2 separate regions of the Homo sapiens genome follow, and region 2 is linked to region 1. Evidence: promoter capture Hi-C in 16 types of primary human blood cells and fetal thymus (Javierre and others, 2016). All regions are on one chromosome and are shown on one strand. Each heading gives the region's core, a stretch centred on a gene start or on the middle of the fragment in contact. The rest is flanking DNA. Distances are from core to core; before and after follow the strand shown.

Region 1 (7,519 bases), core at 1,506-4,005:
CATTGCCCTTCCCTTGTTCCATAGTCCTACCTCTCCCTGTCTCACTGGAGTCCCTCCCAGCCTCCCCTGGTGCCAGCATGGGTAGGGGCACACACCCCAGCTCAACGAGGGGGGGCTTGTCACGGCCCCTGCGGTAGCAGATGACGGGTTGAGTTCCACCCAGAAGTCCAGCACTGAGTTCCAAGGGGTGGCCCCCAGCAGAAGCCTGGATGCATGTGTAGCCCTGGGGCACTTCCTCGCCCAGTGCCCTAGCGATGACTGCCACATCTGTGATGGGCTCAGCTGGCCGGGGAGGGCGCAGGGGCCCACTGGGTTCAGGAACCCACGTTTCCTCAGGGATGGGTGCTCCGTTCCCTGCAAGCCCAGCTACCACGAAGTAATCCACCAGCCGGGGGGGCCGCTCCTCCGCCATGGCCCCCCCCTCACTCACTGCATCTGGAATGGTCAAGTGGGAGAGAGATGAAGCAAGGAAGGCTGGGGATGCCATGGCAACCAGGGTACCCTCTTGCTCCCCTCCTCTTCCTAGTCCTTCCAAAGAAAGGCAGGATAAGGGGTCGGCCAATCCTGAACTCTTCCCCCTGTGACATCACTGCCCACCACAGCTTCTTAAAGAGACCAGATCCCTCCCACTTAATGGTCCTGGCACTCCCCTCAAAGAACCTAAACTCCACCACACACAGCTAACCTGAGCTATGACATTCACATTGTCCATGTGTCCCTTTTAAAGGCTCACCAGTTATAACATCACAGAGATCACAATCTTTTTTGTAATAGCCTTCCATGACATCATTCATGCTGGCCATGACATCATACCAACCTTACAGTCTTTTCAAGGGTTTCTGACCTTCCTACTCTAGTTATGACACCATAAGAACCTTGTGATCCTGCCAATGTTCTTAAAGAGCCCACTCCTAGGTTTTTAAGAGGACCCCATGGGTTTCTGAGAAAGCCCACAAAACCCAAGCTTTAAGAGTCTTTTCAACGAACCCAAGTGTCCTTTCTCCTAGCTTAACTCCACCAATCTGGCCCAAAATCCAGTGTTCTCACACCTCCAGGATCCTTAGGTAGCTCGTTAGATCCAAAGCAGTTGTGAGAGACAAGTCCCGGCCATCCCACACCCTCCACCATGGAGCCCAGAGACAGAAACAGGCCCACAACAGCCTAGTTCTCACCTGCCTCCATGGCCCAACCCCGGGGAGTAGGAGCCCCAAGGGTCCTGAGGCGCCCCAGGGTGCAGAAGCTGGGAAAAAGCCTGGTGGGTAGCTCGCAGCAGGGGCCCAGAAGCGTGGGGGGTGCTTCAGAGGGGAAGGGAGGTTACTTCCTGAAACAGTGGAGGGGAAGCTGCAACTCAGAGGAAGTCAGCCTATGGGTGTGTGTGGTGGCGGTGGCGGTGGTGGGGTTACCATTGAAGGTGCCAGCACAGCATTACGCCAAGTTGGAATCTCAGACTATAGGATCCTGAGCAAGGCAGAGGAGGCTCAGAATGGTTCCAGGATGTGCAGTCCTGCTAACCTCCTGCTGTTCCCCCAGAGAACAGGGAATAAGGAATCTCATAGAGCCAGGCTGGCTTTCTTCATCACCTGGCCTCTGGACACACACACACACACACACACGCACACACACACGCACACACGTACACACACCAACCCCAGCTAAATTTAGACTCCACTTCTGGGAGGTAAAGCCAGGAGTCAGCGTCAGCCTCTTGATTTAATTCTGGGGCACAGACCTGTCCCTCATCCACTGAGGGCGAATGGGAGCCCTATGCCCAAGGCAGCAGGCAGAGGCCATTAGGTGGGACCTTCTGAGGGGCAAGTGGGTGGCACCCATCCGCAGGACCTGCGCACCGGGGCCTCCCCTCACCAAGCCAGGGAAGAGTCCTGCAGAAAGCAGCCCTTTCTCCCTAGGGAAGACAACGGGCACAGGGCCCACTCCGGGTCCCCACGCCCGCGTGCCGGGTGACGGGAAGTTCGGGTTGGGGCAGAGGGCGCGCCGAGGGGGAGGAGGCTGAGGAAGGAGCAGGAGGGCAGAGAAGCAGGCGCGCCGGCGGCCGAGGACGTGACGGCAGCAGCGCCGGCCGCCGCGTGACCCAAGCGGGAGGGAGGGCGGCTCCGACTCCGGCACCCACGGGAGCAGAAGGGGGTGCAGGAGGCCGGGCACGGCGAGCTAATTGCGGGAGGTGCCCTCCCCTCCACTTTCACTTCCCCAGGAGAGAGGAACCGGAACCAGATGTGCAGTGAGGGACAGCAGCTGGGGGCCATCCCCCACCCCGCCTGCCGCCCGCGCTCCCTCCTGCCCGTCCCCGCCTGCCGCCCAGCCCGGTCCAGCCCCTACCTGCCTGTCCCGCGCTTCCCGGCCGGCCGGCCCGCTGGCGGGTGGCTCGGAGGGCGAGCTGGCGGGCCGGCGGGCGGCGGGGCTACCCGGCCCCAGACATGGCGCACCCGACTTGGGCGCCGCTCCCGCCCGGGCAGTGAGTGAAGGAAGAAGAGGCGGCCGAGGACCGCAGAGCGCGGGGCGCAGTGGAAGGAGATCCGGGCGGTCCCCGCGTCCCCGCCGCGCTGCGCCACGCGGGGACTGTGCTGCCGCGCTGCTCGCTCGGCCGGCTCGGTCCTCCCAGCTCCCGCGGCGCCGGGGACCCAGCGTTCCTCCGCGCGCCCCGCTTTCTCTACTCCCCCAACCCCCGCTCCGGGCCGCGGGCGCCGCCGCTACCCCCACCCCTCCTCCTCGGCCGGCGGCCGTGACCCTGGCAAGCGTCTGCCCAAAGCCCAGCCGCCTGCAGCCCGACCCCTGGCGGCTGGGAGGGCCCCCTGCACCCAGGTAGCTTCCCACCATCCAGCCCGTGCCTCAGGACACTGACCCCAGGCGACCCAGAGGGCCGCGGCGCGCTCCCTTCCCGCCTGGGTCCTGCAGTCAGATGTGGCAAGCATGATGTGGGCGCAGGTGAAGTCCCGAAGGTCTAGTCTACGGGGACCCAGGTGGCTCCCCCTACTTCCAGGTTTAGGGCACAGGGCATTCCCTTTGGACCAGAACCAGAAGCTCTCAGTTCTCTTTTTTGAAAATGACAAGAGCTTTGGAAAGAGGAAGAGAGGCCAGGACTGCAGGGTGTGGAATAGAGCAGTGGAGGTGGGGGTAAGGTAACTGCGGGGCTCTACTTTTCTCACTATGCGGGTTGGGGGAGTGAGGGGTGCAGAGGCCCACACGGCTGGTCCAAGGGCTGGCAACCCAATCCAGAAAGAGAAAACCTTCAGAACATGCATGGCACTGAAGGATCTGTTTAATTAAAACTAAAATGAATGAGTGGTGAAGAGTGGAGAGGGTGAAGTGAATGCATGCATAGTGAGGGAGTGAGGATGAAGGCTTGCTTCCCTGAGACCTAGGAGCACTTCAGACCTGTGGGCTCAGCCAGCAATCACCTCCTTACCCGACTCACTGCCAGACCTAGGGTTGAGGAAGAGGAATAACTTGTCTGATCAGTCAAAGCCCCCATCTGATGCTGCAGCAGGGCCCTGGACAGACAGGAGGGCACATGAAGTGATTTCCTGCTGCCGTGGAAGCCTACATCCAGCTGGGTACAAATTCCGAGGCTGTGGGGCCCTTCCACAAAGCACAGTGGTGCTAAGAAGATGCAAAAAGCCTAATAGATAAAAAGACCCATGGCCCTATAACTCCCTAGATCCCCAGCCATGCCCCAAATAACTAACCACACCAAGGGTTTGATATGATTTTTTTATTAACATATAATAATATATTTAATAAAAAATAGTATCCACTCTGGCTCTCTCCTCCACTGCAAGGGGAAGAGTGGTGAGGAGGGGCTGGCACTGCCCACCCCTAGGCATCCGGAAAAGCCCTGCTTCCAGGGCTCCCCTCTACCCCTGCTTTCCAACAGGCTCTGACCTCCAGACAGACGGTTCAAAGTTACAAGTGCTTTAGGCCCTCCCTTGAGTTCCCCCAGGCCCATCCCTTGCGCAGAATTCAGGGGCCACCTGGACAAACCCCTTGCTTTTTCTCATTCTTGGCATCCTTCATTCATGCTAGAAAGAGGATCTGGGGACAGAGAGTAGAGTCTCTACCTGCCAGGGGGAAGGGAGGAAAGGAATGGTGGTGGGGGATGGGGCCAAGAAGAGGGATGGTGATGAGGTGCCCTCATTGGAGCCGGTCACTGCGGAATGACTCCTCCACAGCAGGATCAGGCAGCAGGGCACAGGGGTCACTCAGCATGTTTAGCCCTTCCAGGCCCAGTGGCTCCATGCGCAGCTCATCTTCTAGCCCAAGCCCTAGCTCCAATCCAGCTGCTGACACCTCAAAGCCAGGCACTCCGGCCAGGGCTGCTGCAATCTCCTTAGAGAAACCTGGAGAGGAGTCCCCTGTGGGTAGAAGAGACAGGTGAGGACCCCATGTCCTGTAAACTTTTCCAAGACCCCTCAATCTCCTACTCATTAGTGAATGTGTCACTTCCTCCTTCCATTTCCCATCACCACCCACCCCCATTCACCTGTGAGGATGATGTTAGGCCCTGAGCCATGGCGGGAACAGTGGGTCAAGTTCTGGTGGTTGAAGGTGTGGGGATCCTGGGGGCCACCCATTGGCCCCTCACCCCCTAAAAATCCAGGCCCTTCAGAAAAGCCAGGGGGATCCAGCACCAGGCTGGCTGATGGGCTCTCCATGCTGAACTGCTCCAGCTATAGACATACAGACAAATCTTTAGGAAGTAGGATTTAGAACTGGTGTCCTGCCTAGCCCTGCTAACATATCCCCTTTGCCCAGCAACCTTCATCCACCCCAGGAACAGAGGCAATGACAGAGGGAGGTGGCAGCAAGCAGAGCGACAGAAGCGAGCACGGGGCCCGAAGTAAGTATGGGCACCGTACCTGCTGGGCCAGAGCATGTGCATGCCAGGAAGAGAACGGGTCAAGGCAGAAGTCATCAAAGAGCAAGCTGAGCAGAAATAGAGGGGCAGGAGTAGGGTCAAACGCAGGAAGAGAGGAGCCCCAAGCTGGCAGTGCTATGTTACCTCCGGGGAGAGGAGATCTCCCCACCACCCACCCCACCTAGATCTCCCCATTCACAGTGCACCAGCCATGCCATTCAGGCCCCATTGACCCACCCTCACCCACTCCCCTGCTTTTGAGCAAGGAGCCTGAGTACTCACATTCCCCAGGTTGAAGTCACTCATTGGCCGGTGGTAAGACTGTTGCCCATGCCCACTGGGCCCAGGTGGGTACGGTGTCCCATAATGAGACTGCCTGCCTGGGGGCTGCCCACCTGAGGACTGCACTGAACAAGACTGAGAGGGCAGCCCTGGCTGCTGTAGAGACTTTGGGGTGTGGGGCTGGGTAGGCAGAACCAGACTTGGGGAGCTGTATGGGTATGGGGGTAACCGCTGGTCAGTGGACAGTTTACTGGTATCCAGGGGGACGCCCTGAAAAGAAGTAAAAAGAGGGAAGCTTACTGCTCAGTGTATACCCCAAGAACTCTCAGTCAGAGCTTCCCACCTTCTTTAGCTACAACCATTCCCAAAACAAACATGACAACATTCCACATTCTCACGGGCATCCCTGGGGTTGAGTGCAGTTACTCAACCCCAGGGATGTGTATTAGTTGGCAGGGTGTGGTGGCTCATGCCTGTAATCCCAGCACTTTGGGAGGCCCAAGGCAGGTGGATCACCTGAGGTCAGGAGTTCGAGACCAGCCTGGCCAACATGGTGAAACCCCGTCTCTACTAAAAATATAAAAATTAGCTGGGCATGGTAGCAGGCGTCTGTAGTCCCAGCTATTCGGGTGGCTGAGACAGGAGAATTGCTTGAACCCAGGAAGTGGGAGGTTGCAGTGAGCCAAGATCACACCACTGCACTTCAGCCTGGGCAACAGAGCGAGACTCCGTCTCCAAAAAAAAAAAAGTGCCTATCAGAATGAAAGTGATATAGTGAGGCTAACACAGGGGTAATTTTAAATCTACTCCAGAAGTAAACTATTCTCTTTTTTTGAGACAGGGCCTCACTCTGTTGCCCAGGCTGGAGTACAGTGGTGCAATCATAGTTGGAACTGTAGCATCAACCTTCCTGGTTCAAGTGATCCTCCCATCTCAGCCTCCCCAGTAGCCAGGACTACAAGCGTGCGCGACTGCACCTGGGTAATTTTTTATTTGTTGTAGAGACTGGGTCTCACCATATTGACCAGGCTAGTTTTGAACTCCCGCCTTGGCCTCCCAAAGTGCTGGGATTACAGGCATAAGCCACTGTGCCTAGCCTTAGAAGTAAACCATTCTTAAATCTTGATACTTGAACTATTTATTGTTAGTAAATAAGGAACTAAGGTTGAGAACTGCTGTTCTACAGCCTTGAAGAGGCCAGAGGGGGTGGGAAAAGAAAGAAAGAAAAGGAGAAAGAAAGGAAGGGAAGTCAAGCTCACTCCACACTCTGGGAACAGAGCCCTTGCTAATCTGGCCTCAGTCTTTCCTACAAAAGAGGGGACCTGAGTAAAGATGGAACACAGAACACACATTCCAGGGATAGCAATGGAGGAGGAAAAGTTGGGCAGAGGAGAGGGAAAAGAGCATTTGGATGAAAGAAAAGAGGAGTAGAGATAGAGAACAAGAAGAAAAGGACAGGAAGGGAGACAAGGGCTAAGAATTTCATCTCTGTGGAAAAAGCCCTAAACTAAGAGCTTCGAGTTCTAGTCTCAACTCTTCCTAACTTGCTGGGTAAACTTGGAAAAGTCACTTTCCCTCTAGGTCCCACTTTCCTCATCTATTAAGTGAAGGAATTGGGCTCCACAGTAGGAAATTGACTGATTCTACGAATTCTATGAAATTAGGAGGGGATACAGGGGAGGAGACGGGACAAGATAGAGGCATGAGATAAAAGACAGATATAAAACAGACAGGAACAGAGGAGGCAAATAAAAGGAAAGGGTAAGCTACTATTTGTCAAGCATACCTGGGCTATGTGTGGTGCTAAGTATTTTATGTATGTTACTTCATTTGATCCTTATGAACCATCCTTGTTTTAGAAATGAAAATACTGAGGCTTATAGAAATTAAATAACTTGTCCAAGGTGACTGCTAGTAAGAGGTGGAGCCAGGGTTTGAAGCTAAAAAAGCTTAACCACAGCGTTTGGGTTTGCACTGTGAAGCAAGAGGAGACAAGATGGATAAAAGATGGGGCAGGCGGAGGACAGAGGAATGGAAGGGGATGAGTATAGAGTAGGTATTTCAGGAAAGGAGGGTGGGAGGGAAACAACATGGCAGGAGAAAAGGGAAGGGAGACAGACATGCAGGGAAGGCAGCCACGCATACCTGAGTGATGGAAGACAAGGTGGGTGACATTGTTGGCGAAAACTGTTTGGGCAGCTGCTGTTGGGACCTTCTGGCGTCGGCTGGGCCCGCGAGCAAACTCAGGGGGCTGAGGGGCACACGGCGGTGGTGGGGGGAGGCCCCAGGGGTAGAAGCAGGGTAAGAGGGGGCGCCCAAAACAGGAGATGAAGTGGAGGAGGAGGAAGAGGAGGAGGAGAGAGCCGG
Region 2 (7,519 bases), core at 2,275-4,774, 230 kb after region 1:
CGTAGTGGCACATGCCTGTAATTCCAGCTACTTGGGAGGCTCAGGCAGGAGAATCACTTGAACTCAGTAGGTGGAGGTTGCGGTGAGCCGAGATCGAGCCATTGCACTCCAGCCTGGGCAATAAGAGCGAAACTCCGTCTCAAAAAAAAAAAAAAAACTTTTTGTTATAAAGGTAATACATCCTGGCCAAGCGCAGTGGCTCATGCCTGTAATCCCAGTACTTTGAGAGGTCAAGTCAGGTGGATCACTTGAGGTCAGGAGTTCGAGACCAGCTGGCAAACATGGTGAAACCCTGTCCCTACTAAAAATACAAAAATTAGCCAGGTGTGGTGGCAAGCACCTGTAATCCCATCTACTGAGGCAAGATAATCACTTGAACCCGGGAGGCAGAGGTTGCAGTAAGCCAAGATCGCACTGCTGCACTCCAGCCTGGGCGACAGAGTGAGACACCGTCTCCTCCACCACCCCCAAAAAAACTTATTAAGAAATTAAATACTAAAATATTAAATAAAAATATGGATATATACAGCTGGGCGTGGTGGCTCACGCCTGTAATCCCAGCACTTTGGGAGGCCGAAGCCGGCAGATCACCTGAGGTCAGGAGTTTGAGACCAGCCTGGTCAACATGGCAAAACCCTGTCTGTACTAGAAATACAAAAATTAGTCAGGCGTGGTGGCAGGCGCCTGTAATCCCAGCTACTTGAGGGAAGCTGAAGCATGAGAATGGCTTGAACCCGGGAGGTGGAGGTTGCAGTGAGCCGAGATTGTGCCACTGCACTCCAGCCTAGGGGATAGAGTGAGACTCTGTCTCAAAAAAATAAATAAATATTATTTAAATATATGTGTATATATATATATATATATATATATATATATATATATATACACACAAAAATCCCATCCCAGCTTCCCCAAAGTAATAATATACTAGACGGTTCTGCAACTTGTTTTCCACACTCTTTTTTTTCCCCCCGGTATTCAGCATGCAGCTATCCTCACTTTCTTTCTTTTTTTTTTTTTGAGACCAAAAAAAAGAGGGAGGCTCACTGCAACCTCCGCCTCTTGGGTTCCAGTGCTTCTCGTGCCTTAGCCTCCTGAGTAGCTGGGATTACAGGCGCGCCCCACCACGCCTGGCTAATTTTTGTACTTTTACCAGAGACTGGATTTTGCTGTGTTGGCTGGGGTGGTCTTGAACTCCTGGCCTCAAGTGATCGTCCACCTCAGGCTCCCAAAGTGCTGGGATTACAGGTGTGAGCCACTGCGCCCGGCCCTCACTTTCTATAATTTGCATGCTACTCTAATAGTATACACATAGCTGCCTCTTTCATTTTCACAGCTGCACAGTAGTAACGTACCCTTAGAAAGGCACTATTTATTCTGAAAACCCTTAGTTGTCAAGCACCTCTGTTCTAGTTTAACTCACATGTGGCAAGGAGACAACTGGCTATTTTCAAAAACATGAGTTATAATTTGTTTCAAGGGCCATGGTTCTCAACCCTAGGAACACATTAAAATTAGCTGGGGAAGGCCGGGCGCAGTGGCTCACGCCTGTAATCCCAGCACACTGGGAGGCCGAGGCGGGAGGATCACAAAGGCAGGAGATCAAGACCATCCTGGCTAATACGGTGAAACCCTGTCTCTACTAAAAATACAAAAAATTAGCCGGGCGTGGTGGCGGACACCTGTAGTCCCAGCTACTTGGGAGGCTGAGGCAGGAGAATGGCGTGAACCCGGGAGGCGGAGCTTGCAGTGAGCCCAGATTGCGCCACTGCACTCCAGCCTGGGCTATAGAGCGAGACTCTGTCTCAAAAAAAAAAAAAAAAAAAAAATTAGCTGGAGAACTTTAAAAACATCAATGCCCAGACCCCTCTTGCAACTGATTCTAATGGAACTGGGATGAGATCTAAGCATCCAGTTTTAAATTCCCCAGTGATTTCCCCCCTCACCCCTACCTATGATTCTAATAATGCAACCAGCGTTGAGAAGGCTTACTAAAAACAGATTGCCAGGCCCCACATCCAAAGTTTCTGATTCAGCAGATCAGCATAGGAGCTGAGAATGTGAATTTTTACCAAGTTCCCAAGTATTGCTGATGCTGCTGGTCTGAGACCTTACTTAGAGAACCTCTGTTTTAGAGAAATTAATCTCACAAATAGAAGCTTATGATCCAGAAAGTAGAAGTCATACTGGTGATCCCATTTTAAGGATCATTAGGCCAATTTGTAAGGAAATACCAATTACAAAAGGGTCACAACATCTAAGTTACCCTTACTGTCTTCAAGGGGACAGAATATGCAGAATAGAAAGGAGATCCTGTGTGATGGAGTTAGTATTTTATTTTTATTGACTGATTGACACAGGGTCTTTCTCTGTCACCCAGGAGTGCAGTGGCGCAATCAGAGCTCACTGTAGCCCCAACTTCCTGGGCTTGAGCCACCCTCCTGCCTCAGCGTCCCAAAGTGCTGGGATTACAGGCGTGAGCCATCACACGCAGCCAGAATTGCTATTTAGAAAACAGGTCTATAAGGAAATCTTGATCAGAACTATTATGAACTTTTAAAATCCACACTCCATCAGGCTTCCCTACACACCTCTCACTCTCATCAGCAGCTTTTTCAGCTTCTTCCAGCTTTTGCAGGGCAGTGGCCAGGCGCTCCTGAGCACGGTCCAGCTCTTCTTCAACCAGCTGGATCCTACGGTTCAAGGAGGCCACCTCAGCCTCAGCCTGCATTTGAAGGAAAGAATGGACAAGGGAAGCAGAGGCATGGAGAAAAGAAGAAATAACTATGACATTAAGATCAGGGTTGACTACCATGAAAAAGCCAGAGTCTCGCAGGGTAGAACTTGTCTTAGCTCAGCTGTTAAAAGATCTAGCAGACATAACTTTATATATATATATTTCCTCCCTTTCCCATCAACGAACTCCCATATGTTCCACAGGAAGAGTGTTTTAAAACTCAGTTCCTTGCCCAGCCCAGTGAGTTAGTACCACCCACTTCCTGGACTCAGTTCAAATTCCTCAACACACTGGAGTCAGAAAAGAAAGTCAATGAAGGGTTCCTTCTGCCTGAGCTCTGGCTTGGAGGCATGTCTCATCCTCAGTAACCTTTCAAGTGTCTCATAAAGCAGGAAAAAAAAAAAAAAAAAAGCAAGGTTTCTTAAAGAGGGTATCCTGACTGGGTGTGGTGGCTCATGCCTGTAATCCCAGTATTCTGGGAGGCTGGGGCGGGTGGATCATGAGGTCAGGAATTTGAGACCAGCCTGGCCAATATGGTGAAACCCTGACTCTAATAAAAAATACAAAAATTAGCCAGGTGTGGTGGCGCGTACCTCTAGTCCCAGCTACTCGGGAGGCTGAGGCAGAAGAATCCCTTGAACCCGGGAGGCAGAGGTTGTACTGAGCTGAGATTGCGCCACTACACTCCAGCCTGGGCAACACGGTGAAACTCCATTTCAAAAAAAAAAAAAAAAAAAGAGGGAATCCTGGATTACCTATTAATTGCTGCTTAACTCAAACCGTTATTCCTATGATCACTTTACCCTAACACATCAGAAGAATAACTAGCCAAGGGAATGTCTTCCAGAATAGCCTTCCAGACTGGAAAGCAAAAGAATGGAATATTGTTGGGATGCCTACTCACCAGCCCTTCAACTTGTGCCCCCGTACTCCTTTTTTAAGTTGGCTACAAGGAGCTGCTTCTGGCTAAAATTATCTGCTTTGATAGCTTTACAAAAAAGAAAGAACATTTCCACCACACCCACTACCATTCCTCCAAATTTCTGAATTTTCTCCTTTCTATTCCTCCAGCCATCCCCTTAGCTTCACCCTCTAATACAGCGACAATCTTCCCCCTGGCCTCCATCTCACAATGAAGTATATAGGTTAGAGTCCAAGTAAACCCATCCTGGATGGGTTTTCTCTAAGAAACAAGGAAAGAAGGAGGCAGCCTGCAGGTGGATGGATAAATTCTAATGGTAGGAAAACCTCTTTCCATGACTGCCTCCCCGCTACCTTTACTGGTGGGAGGTACCCTGACTGCAACAGTATACAAGAATTTAATATGCCCCGCACACCACCCAGTTCAGATGCTTATCCAAGTGCCTGGTAAACACGATCTCTCTTCTATAGCCCAGATTGTGCCTGAATTCTATTACCCTGATTTCTTCCTGGCAGGCAGGAGTTGGTGCAGCTATAGAAACAGCCTGGGCCACTAGCTCCGATGAGGAAGAATATAGACCAAAAGACTCCTTTTTAACCATCAGGACTGGCACAAAAACTTCCACATACAAACATGAGAAGCTGAAGAGACTAGGAAGGGAAGCAGAGGGCTGGGGCTACAATCTAGCCACCAGGCAAAGAAAATCGAGAAGTCAACATAAGCTGAAATCATTAAGAAACCATTTGTGCCTCTAACTACACTACTCAAAACACCACAAAGACAAGTATTCTCTGCTTCTGCCTCTTCCAGAAAAATAGATGTTCTCTGTAACAACACACATTTCTCCTCACAAACCCAACAAGGCCATGGATCAAGAGCAAGTCAGGCTATCAGGCAAGACCTAGGAGACACTGCTAGTAAAATGACTTACCCCCCTCAGACGAAAAATACAACTAGATTTAGAGGAAGCTCATGAAATGTAAGACATCATGCAGCTCACCAGTAGTTACCCAAACTGGAGTAGAAGATAACAGGCTATGGGGCGGGGGTGTACAGTTGCCATGACAGCAAGCTGGCTCAGGCAGTTTCTCCCACAAATCAGCATTTACAATAGAATTCTTAGCAAGGCTGAAAAGGGAGAGGGGGAAAACACATCTTGGTGCCCTCCTAAGAGCATGCACACATGAACAAGCCTGTATCAAAAGCAGAACCTGAGATGGGAGTCCTAGAAAAAGCTTCAGAGACCCCCTCCAGGGTGGAGTGGTAGGGAATGGGACCTTGCCTTTCTCTTTTCTCCTAGCACAGAGGATCAGTTCTCTTTACAATGAAACAAAAGCCTGCAGAATCAAGATCTGATACTTTGTTTAAAGGAACAAGGAAGACAAGCTGACTTTTCCCTCATGAGTCTATGCACAGTGCCTGTCCCTTTCAGGTCAAATAATACCAATGGGTACCAAGAGATTGAACAGGCCTACTTTTTGCAGACCAGGCTACCTGTGGCCCTGGGAAACGTTAAGCTCTGCACTTTCCTAATCATCTTAGGTTTTAGCATGCCCATCCAGATGCGGTTTTGGTGTTTCAGCTGACCTATCTCTGCCCAGTGTGGAGGATATACAGTACTCTGTGGTTCTTCCCTTCAAGTAATAATAGGATTCTCCACTGCCCAGGAAGCAAAGATCCTGGGTGAGGGATTGGGGAAAGAGTAGAATGCCCCAGCAACTCAGTCACATTACCAGATGGCTGACAACACCTTCGGCTATCCTCCACTCCAAAGAGATTTCCCAAATATGTCAACCCCTCCAGGCAAGAAACTGACAGTGTGATGGTACTCTCAGGCAGAACAGGGCCAAGGACAGAAGGGGATTAGCCTAAATCTGGCTTTCTGCCACACTGGGGTTTCTCTTATTAGATAAAAGCCACAGATAAAATTCAAATGAAAGAGTATCAGAAAGTTAGGCTTGAGCCCTGTGAGTAAAGGACTATTTGAGTTCACTGTGCTCACAAATGCATTACCCAGGGAGATACCGTGTCCTTGGGGAATTTAAACTTCACCAAAGGGGAGGCAAGTTGGAAGGGAGTAGAGCTATCTGCCCCACAGTAAACAAAGGCGGAGCCTAAGCAGGGGTAAAGGGCTATCTGCCTCTCCCCTGTGAGTGTGTGTTCTAGTACTGGGGAAAGAGAAAGGAAAGCAAAGCAACCAAAGAAAGGTTGCTTAGTCCACCAGGCCCACGAATAGAAGAGAACCACACAACAGTCAAGCATTCTAACCTCTCCAGAGACTAGGAATTTAGGATTAAGGCCAGAATCAAAGCCCACTCCCTCGGTAGTACTCTTAAGGTTTTTGTTATTACTTTTTTTTTTCTTTTTGAGGCAGAGGTAGTGTGCTGACCTTACACTCCCGCAGTTGACCCCTCACTCCCCCAGTGCCGATACTCGCCCAGGCTGGAGTACAGTGGCATGATCCAATCCTGGTTCACTGCCACCTCCGCCTCCAGGGTTGAAGCAATTCTTGTGCCTCAGCCTCCCAAGTAGCTGGGATTACAGGCATGCGCCACCATGCCCAGCTAATTTTTTGTATTTTTAGTAGAGATGGGGTTTCATCAGATCCACAGGTGGACCTCAGATCCACCCGCCTAGGCCTCCCAAAGGGCTGGGATTACAGGTGTGAGCCACCGCACCCAGCCTCTTAAGTTTTTTAGACTAGAAAAAAATTAAAAAGAGAAAAATATCAGGGACAATTAGGAGAGAGTTATTAAAAACAGATAAGGTGAACTGTACATTTATAAATGGTTAAAATGGTAAATTTTACATGTATTTTTATCACCACTACCACAAAAAAAAAGAGATAAGGAAAAAGACTGCATTTAAACATTATGTTGCCATCTGTTTCCATTTAGACAGAAGTAAAAAGGAAATACAGAACTGAAAGTAAATTTGACAAGGTGCTACATTATAAAAGACCAATTTCCAGGCCGAGAGCAGAAAAGAAAGATGGATCCTAGAACACCAGTGTCTCAGTTTTAGACTCATCTAGCTTCCCAACAAGGGTGGCTTGGATGTTCACACAAAGTAACCAGGAAAATAATTAAGTGACAATCCCACTAACAGCATGAGATACCATCAGAGAGTGCAGTTTCCCGCTCCAGAGGAGGGAGGAGTCTGCAAAACCCACATTCCAGAATGCCTTAAGAGGATAACAGGTAGCCCAAGCAACCCCCCTCCCTTCCCACAGGTGTCTCCTCCTCAGTAGGGGTTCAAAGTTCAGCAGAGCAGCAGAAAGTCAAAAGATTAAGCTTCTTCAGGCTGGGGAGTAGAAGAAATGATTTCATCAATATTTAACTATAACTCTACTTCCCCATTCTGAGGACTTCCTCACTAGACCTCAGCTCAATAAGCAAATTTGGCAGGCTCTGAGTGAAAGTAGCTTAAGAAACATCACCCCAGGACAGGCGCAGTGGCTCATGCCTGTAATCTCAGCACTTTGGGAGGCTGAGGCAGGCAGATCACTTGAGGTCAGGAGTTTGAAACCAGCCTGGCCAACATGGTGAAACCCCATCTCTACTAAAAATAAAAAAATAAAATAATAAAAAAAAATCGCCGAGTGTGGTGGTGGATGCCTGTAATCCCAGCCACTCAGGAGGCTAAGGCAGGAGAATCACTTGAGCCTGGGAGGTGGAGGTTGCAGTGAGCAGAGATCGTGCAACTGCATTCCAGGCTGGGCTACAGAGCAAGTCTCCATCTAAAAAAAAAAAGAGGGGGGATGGGAGGCAGGAATCACCCACCTTAGAACTACTCCTAGAATGTCCATATTTAAATACTGAGCCTAAGATTCTGCAGCTCAACACATGGCCAGTTCCTCT

The links. The method cuts DNA at HindIII sites, captures the fragments that hold promoters and counts their contacts. A CHiCAGO score of 5 or more calls a contact.
Region 2: a fragment that was not itself captured here is called in contact with the fragment with the promoter of DENND4B in region 1 in 3 of 17 cell types (M0 macrophages, total B cells and M1 macrophages); the score reaches 9.2 in M0 macrophages.

The regions. Positions count from the first base shown.
Region 1 is chr1:153,943,963-153,951,481 of GRCh38, forward strand. DENND4B (DENN domain containing 4B) reads right to left here and starts at 2,756. Exons shown (of 28, transcript NM_014856.3): 1 at 2,339-2,756; 2 at 96-435. The coding sequence starts at 412. CRTC2 (CREB regulated transcription coactivator 2) reads right to left here. Exons shown (of 14, transcript NM_181715.3): 11 at 7,298-7,519; 12 at 5,153-5,422; 13 at 4,496-4,682; 14 at 3,713-4,367. The coding sequence ends at 4,147. RefSeq lists enhancers at 1,008-1,107, 1,428-1,477, 1,946-2,446, 3,258-3,327 and a silencer at 1,968-2,867. The HindIII fragment of the contact is 4,483 bases long and covers 963-5,445 here.
Region 2 is chr1:154,173,524-154,181,042 of GRCh38, forward strand. TPM3 (tropomyosin 3) reads right to left here. Exons shown (of 10, transcript NM_152263.4): 3 at 2,592-2,725. Among named protein-coding and RNA genes, the nearest start is that of TPM3, 15 kb to the right of the region's middle. RefSeq lists an enhancer at 6,670-7,519. The HindIII fragment of the contact is 2,735 bases long and covers 2,158-4,892 here.